Linked DNA regions of Homo sapiens: all the other regions are linked to region 3. Evidence: promoter capture Hi-C in 16 types of primary human blood cells and fetal thymus (Javierre and others, 2016). All regions are on one chromosome and are shown on one strand. The core of a region is centred on a gene start or on the middle of the fragment in contact, and the rest is flanking DNA. Distances in the headings are between cores, read along the strand shown.

The links. Contacts are between HindIII fragments. The CHiCAGO score rates a contact against its expected background, and 5 or more counts as called.
Region 1: a contact is called between a fragment that was not itself captured here and the fragment with the promoter of LEO1 in region 3, in 1 of 17 cell types (naive B cells). The highest score is 6.5, in naive B cells.
Region 2: a fragment that was not itself captured here is called in contact with the fragment with the promoter of LEO1 in region 3 in 2 of 17 cell types (total B cells and naive CD8 T cells); the score reaches 5.6 in total B cells.
Region 4: a contact is called between a fragment that was not itself captured here and the fragment with the promoter of LEO1 in region 3, in 1 of 17 cell types (naive CD8 T cells). The highest score is 5.3, in naive CD8 T cells.

The regions. Positions count from the first base shown.
Region 1 is chr15:52,608,845-52,611,544 of GRCh38, forward strand. ATOSA (atos homolog A) reads right to left here. Exons shown (of 13, transcript NM_001385016.1): 5 at 2,286-2,411; 6 at 1-1,539. Among named protein-coding and RNA genes, the nearest start is that of ARPP19, 41 kb to the left of the region's middle. The HindIII fragment of the contact is 1,261 bases long and covers 798-2,058 here.
Region 2 is chr15:52,629,642-52,632,341 of GRCh38, forward strand. All of the region lies in intron 2 of ATOSA (atos homolog A), which reads right to left. Among named protein-coding and RNA genes, the nearest start is that of ATOSA, 48 kb to the right of the region's middle. The HindIII fragment of the contact is 4,403 bases long and covers 1-2,700 here.
Region 3 is chr15:51,970,391-51,973,090 of GRCh38, forward strand. LEO1 (LEO1 component of Paf1/RNA polymerase II complex) reads right to left here and starts at 1,388. Exons shown (of 12, transcript NM_138792.4): 1 at 1,298-1,388. The coding sequence starts at 1,355. It also overlaps a transcript of MAPK6 not described here. RefSeq lists enhancers at 505-1,081, 905-1,434, 1,082-1,657. The HindIII fragment of the contact is 6,227 bases long and covers 1-2,129 here.
Region 4 is chr15:52,574,181-52,576,880 of GRCh38, forward strand. No RefSeq gene overlaps it. Among named protein-coding and RNA genes, the nearest start is that of ARPP19, 6.5 kb to the left of the region's middle. The HindIII fragment of the contact is 4,599 bases long and covers 1-2,700 here.

The sequences.
Region 1 (2,700 bases), core at 178-2,677, 640 kb after region 3:
AACACAGTAACTTTTATTTTTGAGTCATTTTTTTTGGAATCATCAGACTGAAGATTGCCAAAGAATTTTGGATTATAGTTCTCATTTATTATTTTTTCCTTATACTTATTTGTACAAATCTGTTTGTCAATAGTGGTGCAATTTGAATACTGTTTATCAATTCCATTGCTCATTTCTTGCTCCTTGAATCTGCTTGTCAAATCTAAGTTATTTTCTTTGTGCTGAGACAAAATTGAGGAAGTTGATAAACTAGAACTTTTGTTCTGTGTCTCCTGATACGTACTTTGGATGATTTCACTAGGATTGTTCTGACACTGATTTCTTGTTTGATGTTTCAAAGAACACTTTTCTTTACTATTATTTTTAAAAGAAGTAAAACATTTATTAGGTACTAAGTTTTTCCCATCACTGATGTCTCCTAACAAGGAACATTTTGTGTGAGAAATGGAAACTGAGGACTCATCCTTATTTTTCTTCAACAAATTTTTGTCTTCATATGAACTCCTAAACACTTTAGATGCAACCGAACTGGAGTCATGCATGTTGAATGACTGCCGGGGGATATGTGATGCTGTTGGATCAATGTGCTCCAAGTGTTGAGCAATCCTTGCAATAACATCTTGCCGCTCCTGGAGTAAAGAGCCTATCAAAGGATTAGTCTCTCCAACAGGCATATGAGAATAAAAGTCATTAGAAATACAAGTTTCACTTCGAGGAGTTTCTGGTTTTAGTCGAATTTTCCCCTCATTGGTGTCTTCTGGGGAACTAAACTCTGGACTACCAAAAGTCATGGAGAAAGCTTCTTTACCTTTTCCCACGTTCTCATTTTCTTGTGAAACCCGGAAAAGTTTTGAATGGAGTGAACTAGACTCTTGAGTATTAAATGGACGTCCAGAAACATGTGAAGTGCTTGGATCACAATGAATCAAATGTTGGGCAATTCTTGCAATGATTTCTTGCCGCTCCTGAATTAAAGAGCCTATTAAAGGGTTAGTCTCACCAGCTGACTGCCAGAAACTCTGGCGGTTAGAGATACTGGAATCAACCATTGAAAATGATTTTAAAGTTCTCACTGATGTTTCTTGTGATTTTATATCACCTATACCACTAAAGCCTAGAATATTGGCTTGAGATGTCCCATGGTCAGATTTACTGCCAGTGCCTGGATATAGTTTGATATTTTTGACAGCTGCAGTATATTCTGGACTTGGGCCACTTTTTGCATGTAACACACTTTCAGGTGCCATGGTCCAAGTTTGTTTGCTACACAGACGCTGTGAACTGTTTGTACCACATTGTTCTGCTTCATTTGGGTTATGGTGCTGATGAGTTTTAAGTTTATGTTGTTGAATTCTTTTCTCATAAAGGCCAATATTAGTGTGAATACTGCACGTCAAAACTGGATAATTAGATTGTCTGGGCAAGGACTGAACACTGACTTTCAAGGCAACATTGTGAGAAACATTGGGAACAGGAAACACATGCTCAATTGGAGTCTGTGAAAAATTCCACTGTAGGTCTACATCAGCAGCACTGATTCTAGAATCACACAGAAAAATACTGTATTATTGGATTATAAAGGTTAGATCCTTATTATTGTATATTATTTTAAATGTAAAGCAGTCATACACTTATTTTTGTTTGCGTTAATTACCACTGAGGTTTACTTTTAGCCACTTTACCATGCATATAATTCTGATAAAACCAATGTAAGTGATATAATAGCTTATGCTTGGAAGAGATGATCTTTTTAAGAACACCAGATCACTTAAGCATTAAAGCTCAAGAATATTATAACTTAAAAATATTTGTTAAAACAGAAAAAAGGACTTTGTAATTGCTAGCACATAAATGGATTCAGCTAATTCCATTGTGCAAGGTGATTAAGAGACACCCTATCTCATGGCCATCTGCCTAAAAAGCCAGTTAGCTGTTTAGCAGCCTATATGTTTACATTATCCAAGATGCCAAAAATTAAGTCAAACATAAAAATTCAGCAGCTCAGAAAACTTTTCTACTTTATAATAGCAGCATTAAGTCCATTGGTTCTCTAAAGTAAGCTTAAAAGTTCTCTTGATATTATTCATACCAAATTTAATACAACAAACAAAATTCATATTGAGTCAATCCAAATCTCTCTAACTTGTTTTGAAAAACCTCAGTAAATTTTATCCACTTACATTTAGAATTGCAGGAAATAATCTATTTAAAAGGTAAAATGCCATTCGGTTGCTAACCAAGGTGGCTGAATACGCACTGTCCTTTTTTTTTGGCCCTAGACATACCTGTAGAGAATATTTCGTGGAATAGCACCATGAGAAACACTCAGCCATGCACTTAACTGAGAAAAAAACACAAATGAGCGGACAGCCAACAGAAGCGTCTTCTCTTCAATAAATCGGTCACCATTCCTAAGGAAGTAACAAAGCATAATTTAAATGTAGGCAAGTACAAAATGACTGAATTTTAGAATGGCAGAAGCTGAGATCCATAAACTTATCACTCAGGATTTGTGCTTTGAAGAGCATAGGAATACACTTACGATGTCACTTGAAGTCACAATTACTAAATGCAAGTACTATATTTACTCATTTTAGTGCCAAATATAAATACTATCTCAATTTTATTACATAGAGGAATTCAAAGACATGATACATTAAAATAATTTATAAGAAGTAATGGAAAACTTGATTTACCAAG
Region 2 (2,700 bases), core at 12-2,511, 660 kb after region 3:
AAATACAAAAATTATCTGGGCCTGATGGCGGGCACCTGTAATCTCTGCTACTCGAGAGGCTGAGGCAGCAGAATCGCTTGAACCCGGGAGGCAGAGGTTGCAGTGAGCTGAGATTGTGCCACTGCACTCCAGCCTGGGCAACAGAGCAAGACTCCATCTAAAAAAAATTAAAAAATAAAAAAAAAGAAAAGACTAGAAGGATAAGTAATTAAGAATTGAAATCAAAATGAAGACAGAATTGGGGAAGCAGCAGGGAGAAACAAAACAAATGAAGTAGAAACAATATACAGCAGGAAAATAAGACAAAAAACAAAAAATATTTGTATACAATAGAGTAAAATTAGAGCTAGAGGAAGTTCAACAGGTTAGGGCAGGACGTTGGTGGTGGTGGGGTACCTAAGGAAAGTCATTACTGTACTTTTGTTTCCTGTGTGTTCTGAACAAGTTCTTTTCCCAGACTCCCATCTTTCAAACATCCCAAAGTAGGCCTCCCTGTATTCCTCACATGTGTTCTACTAGCACTCCTATAAATATAGCTTAAAAGTAGCCCCAAATTTCTAAAAACTAATGTTCTACAACTTTGTTTCCCAAGTTGGTTGTTGAAAGTTCAGAGTTACTTGTCTTTATTAAACCACAGGCATTACGAAGGTTCCTATGGACTAAGGAAGATGAAGTGCTACACCAAAGGCACCACAGAGACTGAGAAGACATGCCAAAAACAAAGAAAATATTTGCAATGCAAATGCTGACAAAAGATGAATATCTAGAATATTTCACCTAAGAATCCTGAAAGGTTAATGAATATAAGATGTAGAACTCCTTAATCATTGCAAAATACAAATTAAAACTACAATTACATATGATTTCACATTCAAAGGATTGTGCAGGAAAATTGACTAAATATTGCTAAAGGTATAGAGCAACAGAAGTGGTCATACACTGCTAGTAAAGGTACACACTGGTGCAAACACTTTCAAAAATAACCTGGCATTACCTAGTTAAGAAGTACATACTCTACAACTCAATTACTCTCCTAGGTAAATAACCTAGAGAAAATCTTGTACATGTATGCTAGGAGACTAATATAAGAATGTTCAAAGAAGCACTGTCTATAACAACAAAATTTTGGAAAAAACAAGTGTTTATCGTCCATAGAATGAATGCTGTGATACACTCATATAATGGGATACAGGAGTAAACGTAAGTACAAGAATAATAACCTACAGCTACATACAGGTTGTAGAACACTATAGGATGATTCTATTTGCATAAAAGTTTAAAAAACAAGCTAAACAACATAGTTTATGGTTATATATGTGATAAAATATTTTAAAAGAGACAACACAGAATTCAGAACAGTGGATATTTTGGGGATGTACCTGAGGAGAGGAACACAGGAGTCAGCACACAAGGTTCTGCTTCTCAAGCTGAGTAGCAACTGCATGGGAGGTCATTTTGCTGTTCTCTAAACCATCTTTAATGTATATGCTCTTTGTAGCTATGATATGCTTCATAATTTTAAAAAATTCACATTGTCTCATGTATGACAAAATAAACCTGTTTTTAAAATTTCAGCATGTATGTGGAAAACTGAAGTCTGGGAATTCTGCACATCTCACTCTTGCCTAGGTCTCACTGTTTGTAAGGTGGTACTAGTTAGTGAAAAATAAGCACTGTGCTGGATTTCATGAGGTCCACATTCTCCCATATTAACCTCTTTTGTTCTAGGTTACTTTAACTATCAAAGTACACCACTTCTTAAAAAAAGTCTTCCAACTTTAAGATTTTATGAGTTGATGAAAATATTAAGGTGAAGAATTATGGTATAAAGGGAAAAAAGACAATATTCAACTTACAATATTGTTCAACTTTCCAAAGGATACAGAGCTGATAAATCCAAGTAATAGGACAAACACCTACGCCTATGTGTTATGGCAAATTAGTTTGCCATATATATATAATTTCTAGAATGCATTTTACATTTTTTAATGTAAGAAACAAGTTTTAAAGCAAGCAACATATCTCGAATTTAACACTCAAACTGAAAGCTACTGACGAAAAGTTAGATTTCCTCGTTGGCTGGACAAATAACTAAAGTGTTCTAAAACACAATGCTAACCCAAGAAATTGCATGGTTCAAAGTGTGTTTTGAAATTGAATAGGCAGTCCCATTGTAACCTCAAACTCCTGGACTCAAGTGATCCTTCTACCTCAGGCTCCCAAGTAGCTAGGACTACAGGAATGCGCCATCATGCCCAGCTATTTTTTTAAACTTTTCTGTAGAGACAGGAGCCTTGCTATGTTACCCAAGTTGGTCTCAAACTCCTGGCCTCAAGCGATCCTCCAGCTTCAGCCTCCCAAAGTGCTGGGATTACAGGTGTAGGCTGACAGTGCTGGGATTACATTGCACCTGACCAGACAGTATTTCTTAAATAAGTTTTCCTTCATTATAGGAAGGTAGCTGTATACCCATTAACTAAAAACATCTTAAAGTGGAAAAGACTAATTTCATCTGAATTTTAGTTCATGATACTGTTCAAAAGTTACAGTGCCTCAATTTAGTGAACATAAAATATTGACTACAACTTAAGCAAGTAGTTCTCTTAATCCTTATTTCTCTAGTAAGAGATGATCTATTGCTTGAGAACCATGTTGCTTATAATAATTTCTTCTGTTGGTTTAAATAAATAATACCATAAA
Region 3 (2,700 bases), core at 138-2,637:
TCAGGCAAATCCGCCTGCCGGAACCAGGAATGTTTACAGTAGCACTATTCAAACAACCCAATGTCCATCAACAGATAAATGGATTAACAAATTTAGGGTGTGCACATTCAATGGAATATTATTAAATCATTAAAAATGAATAAAGTACTGATATGTGCTACAATGCCTTGAAGACATTATGCTAAGTAAAAGAAACCAGACACAAAAGACCACAATGCATGATTCAATTTATATGAAATTCCCAGAACAGATAAGTACAGAAACAATAGCAGACAGGGGTTGGAGGAAGGAGCATATGAGGAGTAAGTGCTTTATGAACAGTGTTTTATTTGGGGGTGATGAAAATAACAACTAGATATATGTTGTCTACAAGAGACTCACTTTACTTGGAGCCTAGAGGGTTGCAAGAATTCTGAACTTGGTCTTGGGTTCTCACTTCAAATAGCTCCTATTCATATTTCAAGTGCCCGTAGTCTCAACTACTTGGAGGCTGAGGCAGAAGGATGGCTTGAGCCCAGAAGTTCAAGGCCAACCTGAGCAACACAGTGAGACCCTGTCTCTAAAAAAGTAAACTTTAAAAAAACACCCACAATCCTGTGCCAGAAATAACTTCCAAGCAGCATGCACATACACTAATTCATTCATTTCATCAACAAATCCTTCATTCCTCCTCTCTGTACACAGACCCCATGCACTCCCCAATCTAACATCACAGACTCCGGAAATTCTGGAGTTTCTGCACAAGCTCTTAGAGAACACATTCTCTCCTATGTGAAACATCTATCTGTAACCCCATCCCATTATCCGTCCCAGACTCGTCATCCAGACATCTCAAGCTCCCTATCACACCATGCTCTGGTTTCATTCAAGACGGCATTCTGAGGCCCTCTGTAAATTCGCCCACCCCATCCCATATTCCTGCATTCATTTCCATTCATTCAAAAACAGCCCTTACTCTACGCTGGCCTGTGCAAGGCAAGGCGGAACAGGACTCCAACGTTCCTACCCGCGCTGCGCAGGCTCGCCTGCACTTCCACCCATGCCCCGCGCCCCTTTCGCTCCACAAGCTCCCAGGAACCGTCTGCTCCACCGACACCCAGAGCCTCGAGGCGCAGACTGTCTGACTCTCCATCCTGCCCGCCGGAGGAGGATGGCACCTCCGGGAGTGCAGGGGGCGCTGAGGCAGGAGTGGAGGAAACGCCACCTCTTGCCCGCGGCGCTGGAGCCTCCACGGTTGTCCGGCTCCCACAGCGGAAGGCCTGCCACGCACCCATCCTCCGAAGACCAGCGAACCCACCTTTACGCTCAGCTTCGCTGTCGGCGTCGCTCCCGAAGAGATCCTCCATATCCGCCATTATCGCTCACGTCCGCTGCTGCCTCGGTTAGGGGCAGCTCCCGGCCTCTCTTTACGGCACGGAACCACTGAAACACGACAGTGTCGCAAAGATTCGCCGAAGACACTCCTTTCCTTACGTGACCTAGTTTTCGCTCGCCCAGTGAACCTGTTCTCGCCTGGGTATGCATGGTATATAAGCCCGGCCATTTCGTCAATATCTGTTATTTGCCAGGATTCTTACCAGGGGGCGGGGGGGTCCTGCGTTCGGTTGCGGGTGTGGATGGGGTGGGCGGTGACTGGCGCTCTCTGGGGAAGGGCCTCTGGCTGGATTAAACCTATCGCGAGTCAGGATTGAAGCCCTTTGTTTCTTACTGAGCAGCTGTTCTCCAGTTATTTCATCCCAAACCCCTTTACCCTCTTAAAAATTGTTGAGACGGAGTCTCGCTCAGTCGCCCAGGCTGGAGTGCAGTGGCGCGATCTCGGCTCACAGCAACCTCCACTGTCCGGGTTCAAGCAATTCTAATTCCTCAGCCTCCCGAGTAGCTGGGACGACAGGCGCCCGCCACCACACCCGGCTAATTTTTTGTATTTTAGTAGACACGGGGTTTCACCGTGTTGCCCAGGCTGGTCGCAAACTCAGGAGCTCAGGCAATCCGCCCGCCTCGGCCTCCCAAAGTGCTGGGATTACAGGTACGGGTATTGATATTTACTGTATTCTTACTAATACGGTAATAAATTTTTAAGTTACTAATTCATTTAAAAATAATATACATGTTAACAAACAGCTTTTTTAAGCTTTAAATGACCATTTTTTTGGCCGGGCGCGGTCGCTCACGCCTGTAATCCCAGCACTTTGGGAGGCCGAGGCGGGTGGATCACGAGGTCAGGAGATCGAGACCATCCTGGCTAACACGGTGAAACCCCGTCTCTACTAAAATAAAAAAAATTAGCCGGGCGTGGTTGTGGGCGCCTGTCGTCCCAGCTACTAGGGAGGATGAGGCAGGAGAATGGCGTGAACCCAGGAGGCGGAGCTTGCAGTGAGCCGAGATCGCGCCACTGCACTCCAGCCTGGGCACGAGACTCCATCTCAAAAAAATAATAATAATAAAATAAAATAATTAAAAATAAAAACATTAGCCAGGCATGATGGCATGCATTTGTAGCCCTAGCTACTCAGGAAACTGAGAATGGAGGATCACTTGAGCCCAGGAGTTGGAGGCTGCAGTGAGCTATGATCACGCCACTTCACTCTAGCCTGAGTGACAGAGTAAGGCTCTGTTTCTTAGAAGAAAAAGTGAGAAAAGAGTACATCCTGTGTTACATTACCTAATTAGGCCATTATGAGAGTTTTGGTCTTGGACAAG
Region 4 (2,700 bases), core at 52-2,551, 600 kb after region 3:
TGGATGAGCAAAGTAACTGGTTTCTTGAGATGGAATTTACTCCTGATGAAGATGCTGTGAATGTTGTTGAAATGACAACAGAAACTTCATTTGTATTCATTACCAACCTCTCTTCATCCTCCTCTCCCCTCTTCCTTCGCAGCTTCTGGTAATCACCATTCCTCTCTCTATCTCCATGAGATCCACTTTTTTTAGCTCCCATATGAGTGAGAACATGCTACATTTGACTTCCTCTGACTTTTATTTCACTGAACATAATGACCCCAAATTCCATCCAGTTGCTGCAAATGACAGAATTTCATTCTTTTTTATGGCTGAATAATATTCCATTATGTATGTATACTACATTTTCTATACCTATTCATCCATTGATGGACACCTAGGTTGACTCCATATCTTGGCTATTGTGAATAGTGCTTCAGTAAACATGGGAATGCAGATATCTCTTTGACACACTGATTTCCTTTCTTTCTTTTTTTTTGAGAGAGAGTCTCACTCTGCCAACCCAGGCTGGAATGCAGTGGCTCACTGCAACCTCTGCCTCCTGGGTTCAAGCGATTCTCGTGCCTCAGCCTCCCGAGTAGCTGGGATTACAGGATGCATCACCACACCTGGCTAATTTTTAGACAGGGTTTCACCATGTTGGCCAGGCTGGTCTCCAACTCCTGATGACCTCAAGTGATCCATCTACCTTGTCCTCCCAAAGTGCCAAGATTACAGGCATGAGTCACTGCACCTGGCCAAGGATCTGAATTCTTTTCTTTTTTTTAATTAACATTTTTTTTTTGAGACAGAGTCTCACTTGGTTGTCCAGGCTGGAGTGTAGTGGTGTGATCTTGGCTCACTACAACCTCTGCCTCCCAGGTTCAAACAGTCCTCCTCAGCCTCCCAAGTAGCTGGGATTACAAGTGTGTGCCACCACGCATAGATAATTTTTGTAGTTTTTTGTAGAGAGAGTCTCACTGTGGTGTCCAGGCTGGTTTTGAACTCTGAGCTCAAGTGATCTGCCCACCTCGGCCTCCCAAAGTGCTGGGATTACAGGCCTGAGCCACTGTACACAGCCATATGTCTTCTTTTGAGAAATGTCTAGTCAGGTCTTTTGTGCATTTTAAAATTGGATTATTTGGGTTTTTTTTTTTTGCTATTGTTTGGGTTGCTTATATATTCAATCTCTTGTTTGATGGAAGTTTGCAAATGTTCTTTGTAGCTTCTCTTCTCTTCACTTGTTTACTCTGCTATGCAGAAGATTTTTAGCTTGATGTAATCCCACTTGTCTATTTTTGCTTTTGTTGCCTGTGCTTTTTTTTTTTTTTTTTTCTTTTTGAGATGGAGCCTTGCTCTGTCACCCAGGCTGGAGTGCAATGGTGCGATCTCGGCTCACTGCTATCTCCGCCTCCCGAGTTCAAGCAATTCTCCTGCCTCAGCCTCCCGGGTAGCTGGGATTACAGGCAGGCACCACCACACCTGGCTCATTTTTGTGTTTTCAGTAGAGATGGGGTTTCACCATGTTGGTCAGATTGGTCTTGAACCCCTGACCTCAGGTAATCCACCCACCTTGGCCTCCCAAAGTGCTGGGATTATAGGCGTGAACCATCGCGCCCGGCCTGTTGCCTGTGCAACACCTGTTGAGGTGTTACCTAAAAAGTCTTTGCCCGGACCAATGTCCTGGAGCATTTACTCAGTGTATTTTTTTAGTAGTTTCAGGTCTTACATTTAAATCTCTAATCCATTTTGACTTGATTTTTGTATATGGTGAAAGATAAGGATCTAATTTCATTCTTCTGCATATGGATATCATTTTCCCAGAACTGTTTACCAGAGAAACTGTCCTTTCTGCAGTGTATGTTCTGGGCACCTTTGTCAAAAATGGGTTGGCTGTATATTTGTTTCTGGGTTCTTTATTCTGTTCCTTTGGTCTATGTGTCTGTTTTTGTGCCAGTACTATTCTGTTTTGGTTACTATAGTTTTGTAGTACAATTTGTGTAGTATAGAAATTTTAACAATATTAACTGTTCCAATCCATGAGCAAGGGATAGCTTTACATTTTTGTGTGTGTTCTCTTCAATTTCTTTCATCAGTGTTTTATAAATTTCCTCATAGAGGTCTTTCACTTCTTCACTTAAATTTATTCCTAGGTATTTTACTTTTTTTGTAGCTATTGTAAATGTAATTGCTTTCGTTTTCAGATTGATTGCTACAATAAAATATTTTAAAATATTACATAAACTTAGCTCATAAAGCAGTGGAAAGATTTGAGAGGACTGACTCCAGTTTTGAAACCAGTTCTATTGTGGGTATGTAAAATGCTATCAAACAGCATTGCATGCTACAGAGAAATCTTGCGTGAAAGGAAGAGTCAATTGATGAGAAACTTCATTGATGTTTTATTTTAAGAAATTCTCACAGCCACTCCAACCTTCAGCAACCACTATCCTGACCAGTCAGCAGCCATCAACATCCAGGCAAGATCCTCCACCAGCAAAAAGATTATGACTCCTTGAGGGTTCAGATGATTGTTAGTATTTTTTAGCAATAGATTATTAATTTTTTTTTTTTAGAGATAAGGTGTCACATTGTCACTCAGGCTGGAGTTCAGAGGTGCCATCATAGCCCACTGTAACCTTGAACTCCCGGGCTCAAGTGACAATAAACTATTTTTTACTTTTATTTATTTTAGAGACAGGGTCTCACTTGTTACTG